Linked DNA regions of Homo sapiens: region 2 is linked to region 1. Evidence: promoter capture Hi-C in human tissues and cell types (Jung and others, 2019). All regions are on one chromosome and are shown on one strand. Each heading gives the region's core, a stretch centred on a gene start or on the middle of the fragment in contact. The rest is flanking DNA. Distances are from core to core; before and after follow the strand shown. Region 1 holds the start of ZNF615 (zinc finger protein 615). Region 2 overlaps ZNF665 (zinc finger protein 665).

Region 1 (7,906 bases), core at 3,451-5,950:
ACCCTACTCTGGACTGAGTAGCTGACCCCTTCTTCCACCCGCCTTCTCACTATCTCTTTTGCCTAATAAATATGGAGGGCTGTGTAAAGCTCAGGGCCCTTGTCCACTAGAGGCAAGGTGTCCCCTGATCCCTTCTTCCAAATATACTCTTTTGTCTCTTTTATTCCCGTTTCCCCCACTTTTTTCAGTCCCCCTAGGTCCTTGTGGGTTACGTAGTGGCGCCCCAAACAGTGACAGGATCGGGCGCTCTACAGTTGGCGCCTGTAATCCCAATTACTTGTGAGGCTGAGGCAGGAATCACTTGAACCTGGGAGGCAGAGGTTGCAGTGAGCTGAGATCCTGCCACTGCACTCCAGGCCTGGGCAACGGAATAGGCTCTGTCTGAAAAACAAACAAAAACAACAAAAAAAAGAGTCTCTGTTGCCTAGGCTGGAGTGCAGTGGTGCGATTATAGCTCACTGCAGCCTCAAACTCCTGGGTTCAAGTGTTCCTCCTGCGTCAGCCTCCCATGTAGGTGGGACTATGTGTGTGCACCCTCATGCCTGGCTTTTTTTTTTTTTTTTTTTTTTTTTGTAGAGACAGCATGTTTTAGGCCATTCTTGCATTGCTATAAATAAATACTTGAGGCTGGATAATTTATAAGAAAAGAGGTTTAATTGGCTTATGATTCTACAGGCTGTACAGGAAGCATAGCACTGGCATCTGGTCCTGGGGAGGCCTCAGGAAGCTTACAATCATGGTGGAAGGTGAAGAGGGAGCAGGAGTAAGACAGAGTGGAGGGGGTAGGTGCTGCACACTCAAATAGCTAGATCTTGCTAGTACTCACTCACTATTGCAAGGGCAGCATCAAGCCATGAGGGATCTGCCCCCATGACTGAGACACCTCCCACCAGGCCCCACCTTCAACATTGGGGATTACATTTCCTTTTTTTTTTTTTTTTTTTGAGATGGAGTCTCGCTCTGTCTCCCAGGCTGGAGTGCAGTGGGACGATCTCGGCTCACTGCAAGCTCTGCCTCCTGGGTTCACACCATTCTCCTGCCTCAGCCTCCCGAGTGGCTGGGACTACAGGCGCCCGCCACCATGCCCAGCTAATTTTTTTTTTGTATTTTTAGTAGAGACAGGGTTTCACCATGTTAGCCAGGATGGTCTCTATCTCCTGGTCTTGTGATCCACCTGCCTCGGCCTCCCAAAGTGCTGAGATTACAGGTGTGAGCCACCACGCCCGGCTGACATTGGGAATTACATTTCAACATGAGATTTGGACAGGGACAAATATCCAAACTATATCATTCAGCCCCTGGTCTCCCTCCCCAACAAATCTCATGTCCTCACATTGTAAAATACCATCATGCCTTCCTAAGAGTCCCCAAAGTCTTAACTCATTCCAGCATTAACTCAAAAGTCCAAAGTCTTATCTGAGACAAGGCAAGTCTCTTCTACCTATGAGCCTGTAAAATAAAAAGTTATTTGCTTCCAAGATACAATGGGGGCATAGACGTTGGGTAAACATTCCCATTCCAAAAGGGAGAAAGCCACAAGAAAGGGCTATAGGTTCCATGCAAGTTCAAAACCCAGCAGGGTAGTCATTAAATCTAGTGCAAGGCGTGGGTTCCCAAGGCCTTGGGCATCCTCTGCTCATGGGGCTCCCTCAGGCAGACATCATGGTTTGCAGACAGCTGTATCCTTCCCAGGTGGCCCTACAGAGGAAGGCACACCCGACTTTTCCAATGTCCTGCAGACCCAGCTGTCTCAACTCTTATGGTGATCCAAGAGTGAGGGCCCCTCCCTACTTGGACACCACCCAAGCTGGCAAGTCCTGCTTGGCTAGGAGCAGGGATAAGCACTTGGATGGCAGATTAGGTGACCCCCACCCACTCATGGCATTATGTTTGTCCACAGAGTTTAGTAACAATTGGGACTGCTGGGCCGGAGGCTCTAGTGGTTGGATTTTGACTGGGGCTGCATGGTCTAAATAGCTTTTTTCACATATTTGGGCTTCTGCTGGAATGGATGAGGCCTTTATTTACACAGTCAACAAGAGGCTAGTCTGGGCTTTCTTACAATGTGTTGGAAGATCTCTAAGAGACAAGCAAGCCTTGATGAGCAAGCTTATTTCTCACCTCCATTTGTGTTACACTTGCTACTGTCCTATTGGACACATTAGTCAGTCACTATGGAGAATACTATCCAAAGATGTGAATATAGAGATGCAAGAATAAATTTATGCAATAACCACAAAAGTATTTGTTTCCTTATAATTGTCAGATCAATACCATAAATATCCTTGCACATATTTGTTCTCACAAAGAAAAGTTCTATTGAATCAATTCTTAAAATTCATGGCTCAAGGAGAAGGAAAAGTTTAAACTGGGTAATAACAGACTGTACTACAAAAACATTTTACGAATTTATATAGAAACACAATCCTATACCTAGAAATAATGTAATGCTTAAGAACTTCGAATTATGACCAGTATGATAATATCTCAATTCATTTAAAGCAGTATGTAATTGACAACATTATTACCTACCATGCAGAAAAAGAAGACTTAAAGAGGCTTAGCATAACAGAATGCCTTTGTTCCATGGCCTTATAATCTAAATATGATTTGTCATTCAATCTTTACAAATCTTAATAAGGGTTAAAACATTTATATTTCACGTTTACTTTGCATTTGTTTGAATATTAGTAAAACTGGTATTTTTTAAATTGTTTAGGATCATTTACATTAAAAAAAGTGTCCTGTTTATTTCCTTCATGTATTTATAGAAAATTTTAGGGAGCTTTTAAGTTGATCATCTTTTCCTTATTTTTATTTATTTTTTTTTTTGAGACAAGAGTCTCACTCTGTCTCTCAGGCTGGGGTGCAGTGGCATGATCTTGGCTCACTGCAACCTCTGCCTCCTGGGTTCAAGCGATTCTCGTGCCTCAGCCTTCCAAGTAAATGGGACTACAGGCCTGAGACACCATGCCCAGCTAATTTTTTTTGTATTTTAGTAGCTATGGGGTTTCGCCATGTTGGCCAGGCTGATCTCAAACTCCTGAACTCAGGCAATCCTCCCGCTTTGGCCTCCCAAAGTGTTAGGATTACAGGCATGAGCCACCGCGCCCATCTTTTTTCTTATTTCTTTTCAGATCTCTTTATAGGCCGGGTGAAGGGTGAAGTGGCTCACACCTGTAATCCCAGCACTTTTGGAGGATGAAGTGGGAGGACTGCTTGAGGCCAGTTCAAGACCAGCTGGGCATCATAGTGAGACCCTTGTCTCTACAGAAAATTAAAAAATTAGCCAGGTGTGGTGGTGCCCACCTGTAGTCCCAGCTATTCAGGAGCCCAGGAGTTCCAAGTTACAGTGAGCTGTGATCTCCCCAGGCACTCCAGACTGGGCAACAGAGTGGACCTTGCCTCAAAAAGAGACAAAAAAAAAACAAAAAAAAAGAAAAACTCTCATATACCAAGGGTGAGAAGAGCAAATGGAACACGAACTTGACTCTGAAAAATAGTTTGACAATTTCTCTGTATATTTATATACTGATACCTATATCACACACATAGATTCACACAGGCATTTCCTTTCTCTCATTCTTCTAATATAGGAAGTTTGGTTGGATTTATATTTACAGTTCAGCATTGCCATGACTTTGCACATACTATTCGCGGTTGGCACACGTAGTATAACGTGATCTCCTTCTTAACCTTTCTTTCTTTTGTTTTTTTTTTGAGATGGAGTTTTGCTCCTGTTGCCCAGGCTGGAGTGCAATGACGCCATCTTGGCCCACAGCAACCTCCGCCTCCCGGGTTCAAGCGATTCTCCTGCCTCAGCCTCCCGAGTAGCTGGGATTACAGGCATGCGCCACCATGCCTGGCTAATTTTGTATTTTTAGTAGAGACAGGGTTTCTCCATGTTGGTCAGGCTGGTCTCGAACTCCCGCTCTCAGGTGATCCGCCCACCTCGGCCTCCCAAAGTGCTGGGATTACAGGCGTGAGCCACCGCGCCCGGCCTCTTTCCCAACCTTTTTTTTCTCACTGAAGTGGTCCTGTTCCCTTAATTTCTGGCCACTTCTCCTGAGTCCAGCCCTCATATTTGGCTCCACCTGGGTCCCAGGCTCTCCCCTCCGCCTTGGGAACTATACTTTCTGGCTTTTACTGGCTTTTCCCCATGCCTTTCACCCAACATAATTTTGGCACGTTCCAACCGTTTTCATTACCTAGTCTGTGACTGCTACCCCTGTTCCGTCAGCGTAGCTAACAGCCCTCTTCTGCGTTCAAAAGGCGCTTCAAGCTACTTTGTTAGAAATCTGGCTTTGGCCGAAGTGTCCCCTCTCGGCCGGTTCTCCTTTTCCCTCACAAGGAACTGTTTCCTAACCTTTGTACAAAGTGTAAACGTCGCGGCCATCTTAGCCTTCTATTCAGCTGCTGAAAGGGATTTACCTCCACGCCATTTTTGTCTTGTGTAAACTGGAGCCTCTGTATATGGACCCGTATTTATGAAGGGTTGAGGTGCCAGGAAATGGGACAGTTTCAGTGCTCTTTCATCTTCCCGGCCATCCCCGGTCACCCCCGGTCACCCCCGGTCACCAGCGCCAAAACGCGCCCTTTGCCTTGTGTACGTCAGATACTCAAAGATGGCGGCCCCCATGGAGCCAAGGCGACGAGGGCGCGGCCATCTTGCATCTGCGCAAACGCTGGGAACGCCTCCGACCCTGGATAGTCGCCGTCAGGCACTGAGGAGGCCGAGAGATGAGGCCGGAGCCCACCAAGTTCTGGGAAGTAAGTTCAGTCACTGGGTGGTCGCTGTGGTGACGGGGGAGGAAATTCTGTCCGTGGCTGGGCGTGTTCGTGGACAGTGGTGATGGACTGGTATCTGTCGGCGCCAGCGTTTGGCGACGCCAGTGGAATTCTTTCAGGAGCTTAGCGTGGGTCCGATTCCTATCGCAGGGGAACTACAAGAGGTCCGTGATAGGGTGTGTGTGTGTGTGATCGGGGTACCTCTGGGACCAGTCACAGGGTCCTCGTGTAGTTTGTGGTTAAAGATCTCTAGAGATCCGCTACTGAGTGCCCAAGTCACATTCTGGTGTCTTTGGTGTTGTCCTTTGGCGGGGCTCAGTGATTGCGAACTGGAGGGTTTGTTTTGTCAGCGAATCGGTTTATGGTTCAGGTTTTGTTTGGGACTAAATGATTGAGGAACTGTCTTGGGGGTTAAGGTACGGAGGTTTCTGATCCAGGTTTTGGAATTAATCCCGGTGGCGGTGGTGGTAGCGCCACAGATTCCGATGTGGGCTGCAGCTCTGGAGGCCTGGGAACCATGGCAGGTGATGGGTTAGCCCCAGCCCTGGCTGCTGGAACAGAATTGATGCTCATTAGCATTCCCCTTCTGCCCAAGACCCTTCTCCACGACTGGTTTTTAAATCCCCTTTGGCACCTTCCATCACCCCTTGGTCTTGAATCCTCAGAAATGGAAGTTTTTGGCGAGATCAGTCATCTAGCATACCTAAAAGTAGTATGTTTTATATTTAAGATGCGGCTTCTACCCTTTGTCCTGCAAGTTTCCAGCGTATCCTCTTGGATATTTCTTTTCAGGTTCTTTCTGACACAAGTAAGATAACATCTCTGCCATGGTAAGCTCGGTTACTCAAAGATAACCTTTGTCAAATTTTCAGAATATTTCAATTTTAGACGTGTATGTTATGTGCTTAATATTCATAATTCAGATAAATTATGTAAATGGTACTATTATCTTTTTCGCTTTATATTATGTAATAAACATTTAGAAGTTGTTTTTACTGTTTGAGCCGGTGGTACTATAAGTGCATTCACATTAAGTTTATGCGTACATTTGGATAGAAGTGAAATGTTTTAAAATGTTTAGGTATTATTTTTAGGAACATTTTATGATTATCCATTTATCCATGAATTTTGTTTTTCCTGCCTTTAATCTTCAATCTAGACTATTACTTTTATTGCAGTGTATTGCTTTCTGACTCCCCTTTCCTTATAATCTATAACAAAAGATAAATTAATTTTAAATATTTATTTTATATTTGGTCATCTTAATTCTTAGTATTACAATATTTTTCTCTCTGCCTAACATATTATTTTGTGAAAATTTTTGAACCTATGGAAATATTGAAAGAAGTTTAATGTTAATACCAATATGCCTACCACCTAGCTTTTACCATTAACATTGTATTAGATCAGCTCTACTGGTTTTCTAAGTATTCATCCATTCCTCTGTTTGTGAATCATTCCTTATTTGTTGTCGATTTTGGTATATTTCAAAGTAAGTTACAGACATAAGTACCATTCCTCTAAATAATTCTGTATATGATTAACTAGAATTCTACTAATAGCCCTTTAATTGCTTTATTTATTTACTTAATAGGGAGGCATCTGATTTACAGATAATTTTGGTTCGGTATAAAGTAGAGTAAAAGTGGATTTTGAAGTGAAACAAAAGTGGATTTTCAGCCCTGATTCTGCTTCTTGCTCATTGTGTGATTGGCATAACTTGTGTCGCTTTACTTGTTGGCCAAAAGAGGAGTTAAACATCTTTTCCTCACGATTATCTCTGAGGATTATTTTTGGTTTTGTCTTTTGTAAAATTTGTATTTATATTCATTTTTTTCTCTCCCTTCCTCCCGCCTGGTTTCTCTCTTTTTTCTATTAATGAAAACATTTAAAGCCGTAAACTTATATTACTGAACTACCATCAGCAATTTTATTTTAAATGTAGAATGCTAATATTTTTCTGATGTAAACCTGTGTTTTCCCTATGAAAAATCAAGTGAAGAAAGTAAAAATGACCTGTCAGATAGCACACTTTTGCCAATATTACCTTTTAAGAAAGTTTTAGGAATGGGGTTTTGGGTTACCAGGTATACCTTTATTGGCAATTTTCAATAGAATGTTAAATTGTTCCCAAGAAAGGTTCTGCTCTTAATACTGACTCGATCTGTATATGCTTTAGGAGGATATAGGATTTTTCTATTTAAATTTTGTATCCAGCCACCTGACTAAAGGAATACAGACGTATTAGGCAAATACTGATAATTTGCCCCTTATATTCAAAAGTCATCTTTGATTATTTTTTTATACTGCATTCTACTGAGTGACATTCTAGACCCAAATTCTCAACTCTGCCATTGTAATGTGATAATAGCCTGAGATGAAATGTCATGGAATGCATGTAGCTGTGTTCTTATAAGACTTTATTTACAAAACAGGTGGTCCAGGTCCTGGATACTATATTACTGACTCTTGATTTAGGTGACCATATGGCTTTTCTGCACAAATTCACAGTTGGGCAACTAGAGCCCATGGACTAAATCTCCCAGCACCTGTTTCTGTTAATAAAGTTTTGTTGGGACCTGGCCACAATCATTTGTCTATTTTTTTGTATGTGGGCATTTTTGAGCTACAACAGTAGAGTTGAGTAGCTGCCACGGAAACCATAGACCTCTCTTTTAACATGGAAATAATTTTTTAAAAATTAGTTTTATTGCTGACACTATTGATTACAAACAACATATAAACTTATTTGTTAATGTTATGGTAATTAGTATTTTATACTCTTCTGCTATGCAGATATCTTAAAATACGTTTTCATTTGCCATCCTCCTACTTTATATGTTCTTTTTTGTTGTTGTTGTTTTGAGATAGAATCTCACTCTGTCACCCAGGCTGGAGTGCAATGGCACAATCTTGGCTCACTGCACCCTCCGCTTCCTGGGTTCAAGCAATTCTCCTGCCTCAGCCTCCTGAGTAGCTGGGATTATAGGCACGCGCTACCATGCCCAGCTAATTTTTGTATTTTTAGTAGAGACGGGGTTTCACCATGTTGGTCAGGCTGATCTCGAACTCCTGACCTCGTGATCTGCCCACCTCGGCCTCCCAAAGTGTTGGGATT
Region 2 (7,906 bases), core at 2,157-4,656, 1.2 Mb before region 1:
TCATCTGATCTATTTGAGTATATTTTTCTATATGGAATGAGGTATAAACAAAAGGGTTTTTTTGCATATGAAGATCTAATTGTTTCAGCACCATTTTTTAAAAAGACTGTCTTTTCTCCATGGAATTGCCATTTATTCTTTGTCAAAAATCAGTTGTCTATATAACGTGAGTCTATTTCAGTATTCTCTATTTCATTCCATTGATCTATTTGATATTTGTCTAATCAACAATAATCACACTGTCTTGATGACTACACTTTTATAATGAAAGCAGGTAGTGATAGTGTTACAACTTTCTTCTTTATCAAAATTGTTTTAATTATGCTAGATCCTTTCCATTTTCCTATGAATTTTAGAAAGCCTGTTAATTTCTCAAAAAATACATGCTGGAATTTTGGTTGGGATTGTGTTGAATCAATAGGCTAAATGGGGAGTGTTGCTGTTTTAACAATATTGAGTCTTCTAAATGCTGAACAAGATATATTTAGCTTTTCATTTATTTAGGTCTTCTTTAATTCCTCTCTGCAATATTTTATAGTTTTTAGTGTATAGGTTCTTCATATCTGCTGTCGGACTTTTCTCTAAGTATTTAATGTTTTTAAAGCTATTGCAAACTGCATTTTAGAAAACTTTCTGATTATTCATTGCTAGTATATAGAAATAAAATTGATTCTTTGGGGTATTGATAATGTATTCTTCAACCTTGCTAAACTCACTAGTTCTAGCAGCATTTTTGTAGAGTATATTGAATTTTCTCAAGGATGATTATGTTATCTGCAAATAAAGACAGTTTTATTTCATAAAAAAAAATTATATTCCAGTTCTTATATCCTGTGCTGGTTCTGAAGTAGAACTCCTCTTTTCTTTCTTTCTTTCTTTTTTTTTTTTTTTTTTTTTTTTTTTGAGAGGGAGTCAGGCTGTGTCGCCCAGGCTGGAGTGCAATGGCACAATCTCGGCTCACTGCAAGCTCCACCTCCTGGATTCACGCCATTCTCCTGCCTCAGCCTCCCGAGTAGCTGGGACTGCAGGCGCCCGCCACAACGCATGGCGAATTTTTTGTATCTTTAGTAGAGACGGGGTTTCATCGTGTTAGCCAGGATGGTCTCGATCTCCTGACCTCGTGATCCACCCGCCTCGGCCTCCCAAAGTGCTGGGATTACAGGCGGGAGCCACCGGCGCCCGGCAGACTCCTCTTTTCTCAAGAGAAATTGTTGGCCAAGCACCCTGGCTTACGCCTGTAATCCCAGCACTTTAGGAGGCTGAGGTGGGTGGATCACGAGGTCAGGAAATCGAGACCATCCTGGCTAACACGGTGAAACCCCGTCTCTACTAAAAATACAAAAAATTAGCCGGGCGCGGTGGCGGGCGCCTGTAGTCCCAGCTACTCGGGAGGCTGAGGCAGGAGAATGGCGGGAACCCGGGAGGCGGAGCTTGCAGTGAGCCGAGATCGCGCCACTGCCTGGGTGACAAAGCGAGACTCTGTCTCCAAAAAAAAAGAGAGAGAAATTGTTGACAATCCACAGACTATAACTTCCTGTAAACACGGTTACTAATTCTTGCCTACTGCTTATATCCTGAGTTGCTAAAATATTTTCTTAATTTCGATTATTATTGATAGAGGATGGTTTTTTACCATTTGTAAGAAATACAACTGTTGGGGCTGGGCGCAGTGGCTCACTCCTGTAATACCAGCACTTTGGGAGGCTGAGGCGGGGGGATCACCTGAGGTCGGGAGTTCGAGACCAGCCTGACCAACATGGAGAAACCCTGTCTCTACTAAAAATACAAAATTAGTCTGGCCTGGTGGTGCATGCCTGTAATCCCAGCTACTCAGGAGGCTGAGGCAGGAGAATCGCTTGAACCTGGGAGGCGGAGGTTGCGGTGAGCCGAGATTGCACCACTCACTCCAGCCTGGGCAACAAGAGCAAAAGTCCTTCTCAAAAAAAAGAAAGAAAGAAAGAAAGAAATATAACTGTTATATACCACTTGTTAATGTTGCAAAATGTTTGCTCTGTGTGGGTATATAGGGGTATGTAGTTTTATAACAGGTATTCAGAAAAATAGTTTTTTCTGACATTTTAAAATTGAATTCCTCCTCGTTTTTTCAGTGCTATTATTGTTTTCCAATTCAAAATTACTAGTTCTTTAATTATTCATTACATATGTTTGCTGTGAGTTATTTGCCATTAGAGTATATCATGTTGTGCTTCAGCATTTACTTATGCATAACAAATATGCTTTAAATAGGCACAATCTAAGAATTATTTCTCTTGAATTCTGTGACAGCCATATAAAATATACTGCCAATTGGTAGCCTTGGGTCATGGTTGAAAAATACTCCTTTCAGGGCTAATATGGGTTTGCACAATATGAGTGTTTTGTTCACAGAATGTTTAAAACTAGGATCCCCTACTATTTGAATTACATGTTACCACCTTTTCTTTGATAAGGAATCCTGTTCCTTTTGTGTTCTGGAAAATTATGGTTCTGAAGAATCGTAAGTCTGTTCAACATAACTATTACTTTTGGTGTAACATTAGGTTTTTCAATGGGAAATAGTTATTTACCTACTATAGTTAACTGGAAATCTATGGTTGTTTATATCTTACAGATATCTCTTGTAAATGTGTAAACACGGATTTGCCACCAAAGGGGAAGAACAATATGGGAGAAGCGTTCTACACGGTGAAGTTGGAGAGACTTGAAAGCTGTGACACTGTAGGCTTGTCCTTCCAGGAAGTTCAGAAAAATACATACGACTTTGAGTGTCAGTGGAAAGATGATGAAGGAAATTATAAAACAGTACTTATGTTGCAAAAAGAAAATCTCCCTGGTAGAAGAGCTCAACGTGATAGAAGGGCTGCAGGAAACAGGCATATTGAAAATCAGCTTGGAGTAAGCTTTCAGTCACATCTCCCTGAACTGCAGCAATTTCAACATGAAGGGAAAATTTATGAATACAATCAAGTTGAGAAGTCTCCTAATAATCGAGGAAAACATTATAAATGTGATGAATGTGGCAAGGTCTTCAGTCAAAACTCACGGCTAACAAGTCATAAGAGAATTCATACTGGAGAGAAGCCTTACCAGTGTAATAAGTGTGGCAAAGCCTTTACTGTTCGTTCAAACCTAACAATCCATCAGGTCATCCATACTGGAGAAAAACCTTACAAATGTAATGAATGTGGAAAGGTCTTCAGTCAACCTTCAAACCTTGCAGGTCATCAGAGAATTCATACTGGAGAGAAACCTTACAAGTGTAATGAGTGTGGCAAAGCCTTTAGAGCACATTCAAAACTAACTACACATCAGGTCATCCATACTGGAGAAAAACCTTACAAATGTAAGGAATGTGGCAAGTGCTTCACTCAAAATTCACACCTTGCAAGTCATCGAAGAATTCATACTGGGGAGAAGCCTTACAAGTGTAATGAGTGTGGCAAAGCCTTTAGTGTTCGCTCAAGCCTGACTACCCATCAGACAATCCACACTGGAGAAAAACCTTACAAATGTAATGAATGTGGCAAGGTCTTCAGGCACAATTCATACCTTGCAAAGCATCGGCGAATTCATACTGGTGAGAAACCTTACAAGTGTAATGAGTGTGGGAAAGCCTTCAGTATGCATTCAAACTTAACTAAGCATCAGATCATCCATACCGGAGAAAAGCCTTTCAAATGTAATGAATGCGTCAAGGTTTTCACTCAGTATTCACACTTAGCAAATCATCGAAGAATTCATACTGGAGAGAAACCTTACAGGTGTGATGAGTGTGGCAAAGCCTTTAGTGTGCGATCAAGCCTAACTACCCATCAGGCAATTCATACTGGAGAAAAGCCTTACAAATGTAATGACTGCGGTAAGGTCTTCACACAAAATTCACACCTTGCAAGTCATCGGGGAATTCATTCTGGAGAGAAACCTTACAAGTGTGATGAATGTGGTAAAGCCTTCAGTCAAACATCACAACTTGCAAGGCATTGGAGAGTTCATACTGGAGAAAAACCTTACAAGTGTAATGAGTGTGGCAAAGCCTTTAGTGTTCATTCAAGCCTAACTATACATCAGACAATACATACTGGACAAAAACCATACAAATGTAATGATTGCGGCAAGGTCTTCAGACACAATTCGTACCTTGCAATTCATCAGAGAATTCACACTGGTGAGAAACCTTATAAGTGTAATGAGTGCGGCAAAGCATTTAGTGTACATTCAAACCTAGCTACCCATCAGGTCATCCATACTGGAGAAAAACCTTACAAATGTAATGAATGTGGCAAGGTCTTCACTCAAAATTCACATCTTGCAAATCATAGAAGAATTCACACTGGAGAAAAACCTTATAGGTGTAATGAGTGTGGGAAAGCCTTCAGTGTTCGTTCAACCCTAACTACCCATATGGCAGTCCATACTGGAGACAAACCTTACAAATGTAACCAATGTGGCAAGGTCTTTACTCAAAATTCAAACCTTGCAAAACATCGAAGAATTCATAGTGGATAGAAACCTTACAAAGGACGCCGGGCGTGGTGGCTCACGCCTGTAATCCCAGCACTTTGGGAGGCCGAGGCGGGGGGATCACCTGAGGTCTCGAGTTCGAGACCAGGCTGGCCAACACGGTGAAACGCTGTCTCTACTAAAAATACAAAAATTAGCTGGGTGTGGTGGTGCACGCCTGTAATCCCAGCTACTCGGGAGGCTGAGGCAGGAGAATCACTTGAACCTGGGAGGCGGAGGTTGCAGTGAGCGAGATCATGCCATTGCACTCCAGCCTGGGCAACAGGAGTGAAACTCCATCTCCAAAAAAAAAAAAAAAAAAAAAGTAACCTTACAAAGGAGTGCGGCCAGTTTTTCAGCCACAAATTCTTTCACAACATCAGAGAATTCATTCTTGAGACAATTCTTACAAATACAGTGACTGTGGCAAACTCCTGATGAGTTTAAGCATTAACAGACATCAGAGTTCAAATCCTGTGAATATACTATGTATGACAGAAGCTTTATCCAGGTCTCAGAGCTCAATACGCATCAAAAGATACATCTTTGATGAAGTCACACAAACGTAACATGCATGCTGAGACTATTACTCCTGGACCACAACTGTAGGTGAGGATTCATAGGAAGAGTAGAACTCAGTCTCTAGTTTCCTCATAACCCTCTGATATTATATACTTCAGCATAATCAGAAGTCCAAATGTGTTAAAACTCATTACATGATACATATCAAAGGTTGTAGGATGTTTGGAAATGGCCAATTACTTTCAGCTTATAAAATGTTTTGTTGAAGTATTTAAGATTTATTGAAAAGGCTACTATTTATAACTTCCAACCAGAACTTTGCAATGTGCTGATTTTATACATGATTATACGCCTAACATGGTGTTGTTCGGGAAAGAATCAAAGGATGGAAGGGCTCACTCACTTCATTAGGTGAGGATTATTTCTCTCCAAGCTCCTGAAGAAAAAAGACTCTGCCTTTTAAAATTAAATATAGTCTGAATTAGAGAGCACTTGGAAAGGGCAGAGGATGATGAACTATGATGTCACTCATCATCCTTATTGCACTGCAGGTGCCCTTCTTCTGACAGAAGAGCACTGTGGGTATGGGAAGAAATTCTCTACTGGCCGGGCACAGTGGCTCACGCCTGTAATGCCAGCACTTTGGGAGGCCAAGGTGGGTGGATCACCTGAGGTCGGGAGTTCGAGACCAGCCTGACCAACATGGAGAAACCCCATCTCTACTAAAAATACAAAATTAGCCAGGCATGGTGGCGCATGCCTGTAATCCCAGCTACTCAGGAGGCTGAGGCAGGAGACTCGCTTGAACCCGGGAGGCAGAGGTTGTGGTGAGCCGAGATCATGCCACTGCACTCCAGTCTGGGCAATAAGAGCGAAACTCTGACTCAAAAAAAGAAAGAAAGAAATTCTCTACCAGTAGACCATGAAATAGAGCCAGGAAGACACTCGGATTTTTATTAGAGGAGAGTAATAGCTTATTAGGGACTGATGTGTGGTACAAATAATGCAGAAAAGTGGAGGCTACCTTCTCCATCAAATGCCAATAGCTGTTGCATAGCAAAGATTGATTTTTTTTTTTTTTTTTGAGATGGAGTCTTGTTCTGTTGCCCAGGCTGGAGTGCAGTGATGCAATCTCAGCTCACCGCAACCTCCGCCTCCTGGGTTTTAGCGATTCTCCTGCCTCAGCCTCCCAAGTAGCTGGGATTACAGACATGCACCACCACGCCTGGCTAATGTTTGTATTTTTAGTAGAGATGGAGTTTCACTATGTTTGCCAGGCTGGTCTCGAACTCCTGACCTCATAATCCGCCCACCTTGGCCTGCCAAAGTGCTGGGATTACGGGCTGGAGCCACCGTGCCCGGCCGGCCGAGCATAAGAAGTTTAATCAAAGTAACCAGAATCCCATGTTTGTTACTAGGATTTACATTAACTGCTGGAATCACATTTTGCTACTATTTAAGAATGCATCATAGATTTAATGTTTTAACTAATAAAATTTGATGTATTTTATAAGTATGAATGAATCATTTCTTGCCAACATAGTTTTATCCTACCTCAGTAGCATACTTCATAACAGATAACAACACTGCACCATTAAGCTATCGAAGGATCTAGAACAATGATTTCCATTGTTGGATCAAACAACATATAATTTTCAGAAACTAAGTGTATTTTGGTTTTTTTGTTTGTTTGTTTGAGATGGAGTTTCATTCTGTCACCCAGGCTGGAGTGCAGTGGCGTGATCTCGGCTCACTGCAACCTCTGTCTCCCGGGTTCAAGCAATTCTCCTGCCTCAGCCTCCCAAGTAGCTGGGATTATAGGTGCCCGTTACCACACCCGGCTAGTTTTTGTATTTTTAGTAGAGACAGGGTTTCACTATGTTGGCCAGGCTGGTCTCGAACTCCTGACCTCAAGTGATCCACCTGCCTTGGCCCCCCCAAAGCTCTGGGATTACAGGTGTGAGCCACCATGCCCAGCCCAGAAACTAATTGTATTTTGTACTTGAATTATTCTCTCCACACTCTGCCTTGGGATACTTATGTGGTATAATGAAAATCCCACAGAAAGGATATTTCAGACTCTCACACCCTGAAGTCTGCATTGCTCTTCATGCATATGCACAGTATTATTATATTTTTGCATGTCTCTTTCTTGCATGCCAAATAACACCTATGGCATTTATCTTGATGTACCTGAAGTGAAAATACAAGTATAGTAAAAATATGACATATTAGGAAACAAAAAAACTGTGGGGAATATGGATAAAAACAACAACATCTCTTTTTTACCTTTGGAATGCTCAGTGGCAATTGGAAAAATTAATATATATAAATTTTCTTTTAAGAAAGAACATAACACATTCAGATTTTTTTTTTTCCTGGCAGATAAACGACAAAGTTTGTATGTTCACCCTCATAACATTTTGATCATTTGAACTTGTGACCTCTCTACTGGAACTGTATTGAACTTCACCTAAAGGTTGGTTGAGAAGTGTTATGAGACTGTTTATTACATAATGTGGGTTTCTGGGGAAAGCTGGGTAGACTTCCAAAGCTGGTCTAAAAATGGCTTGAGAGCCCAGATAAGCAACTTGCTTGGTGTGTTATGGTTGATAAGGTGTGGGGATGGGTTAGAGGAAGCTTTGTGTGGTTTGAACGTCCATCTAGTGACAAAGGAGGAAGCACTCAAGCATGACCAGTTTGACCAAATGGGCAGAACAGAAGTGCAGAGCTGTAAAAGCGTTAGTAGTACAACATCACAAAATGGAGACTGACGCTAGTACACTGAATTATTTACTCTGGAAAGTTCTGAATTCTTGGTTTGGGAAGACCCCAGTTTTCTTTTTTGTTTGTTTGTTTTGTTTTGTTTTTTGAGACGGAGGCT

What was found. The method cuts DNA at HindIII sites, captures the fragments that hold promoters and counts their contacts. A contact is called where the count stands out against the background at its distance.
Region 2: a contact is called between a fragment that was not itself captured here and the fragment with the promoter of ZNF615 in region 1, in 1 of the 25 tissues and cell types used here (aorta).

What each region holds. Positions count from the first base shown.
Region 1 is chr19:52,005,005-52,012,910 of GRCh38, reverse strand. ZNF615 (zinc finger protein 615) reads left to right here and starts at 4,700. Exons shown (of 7, transcript NM_001199324.2): 1 at 4,700-4,770; 2 at 5,581-5,618. LOC124904755 (a long non-coding RNA gene) reads right to left here and starts at 4,613. Exons shown (of 2, transcript XR_007067321.1): 1 at 4,432-4,613. RefSeq lists enhancers at 4,190-4,269, 4,330-4,939. The HindIII fragment of the contact is 10,336 bases long and covers 1,419-7,906 here.
Region 2 is chr19:53,161,053-53,168,958 of GRCh38, reverse strand. It overlaps ZNF665 (zinc finger protein 665), which reads left to right. Exons shown (of 4, transcript NM_024733.5): 4 at 2,612-6,535. The coding sequence ends at 4,506. Among named protein-coding and RNA genes, the nearest start is that of ZNF347, 6.0 kb to the right of the region's middle. The HindIII fragment of the contact is 5,852 bases long and covers 481-6,332 here.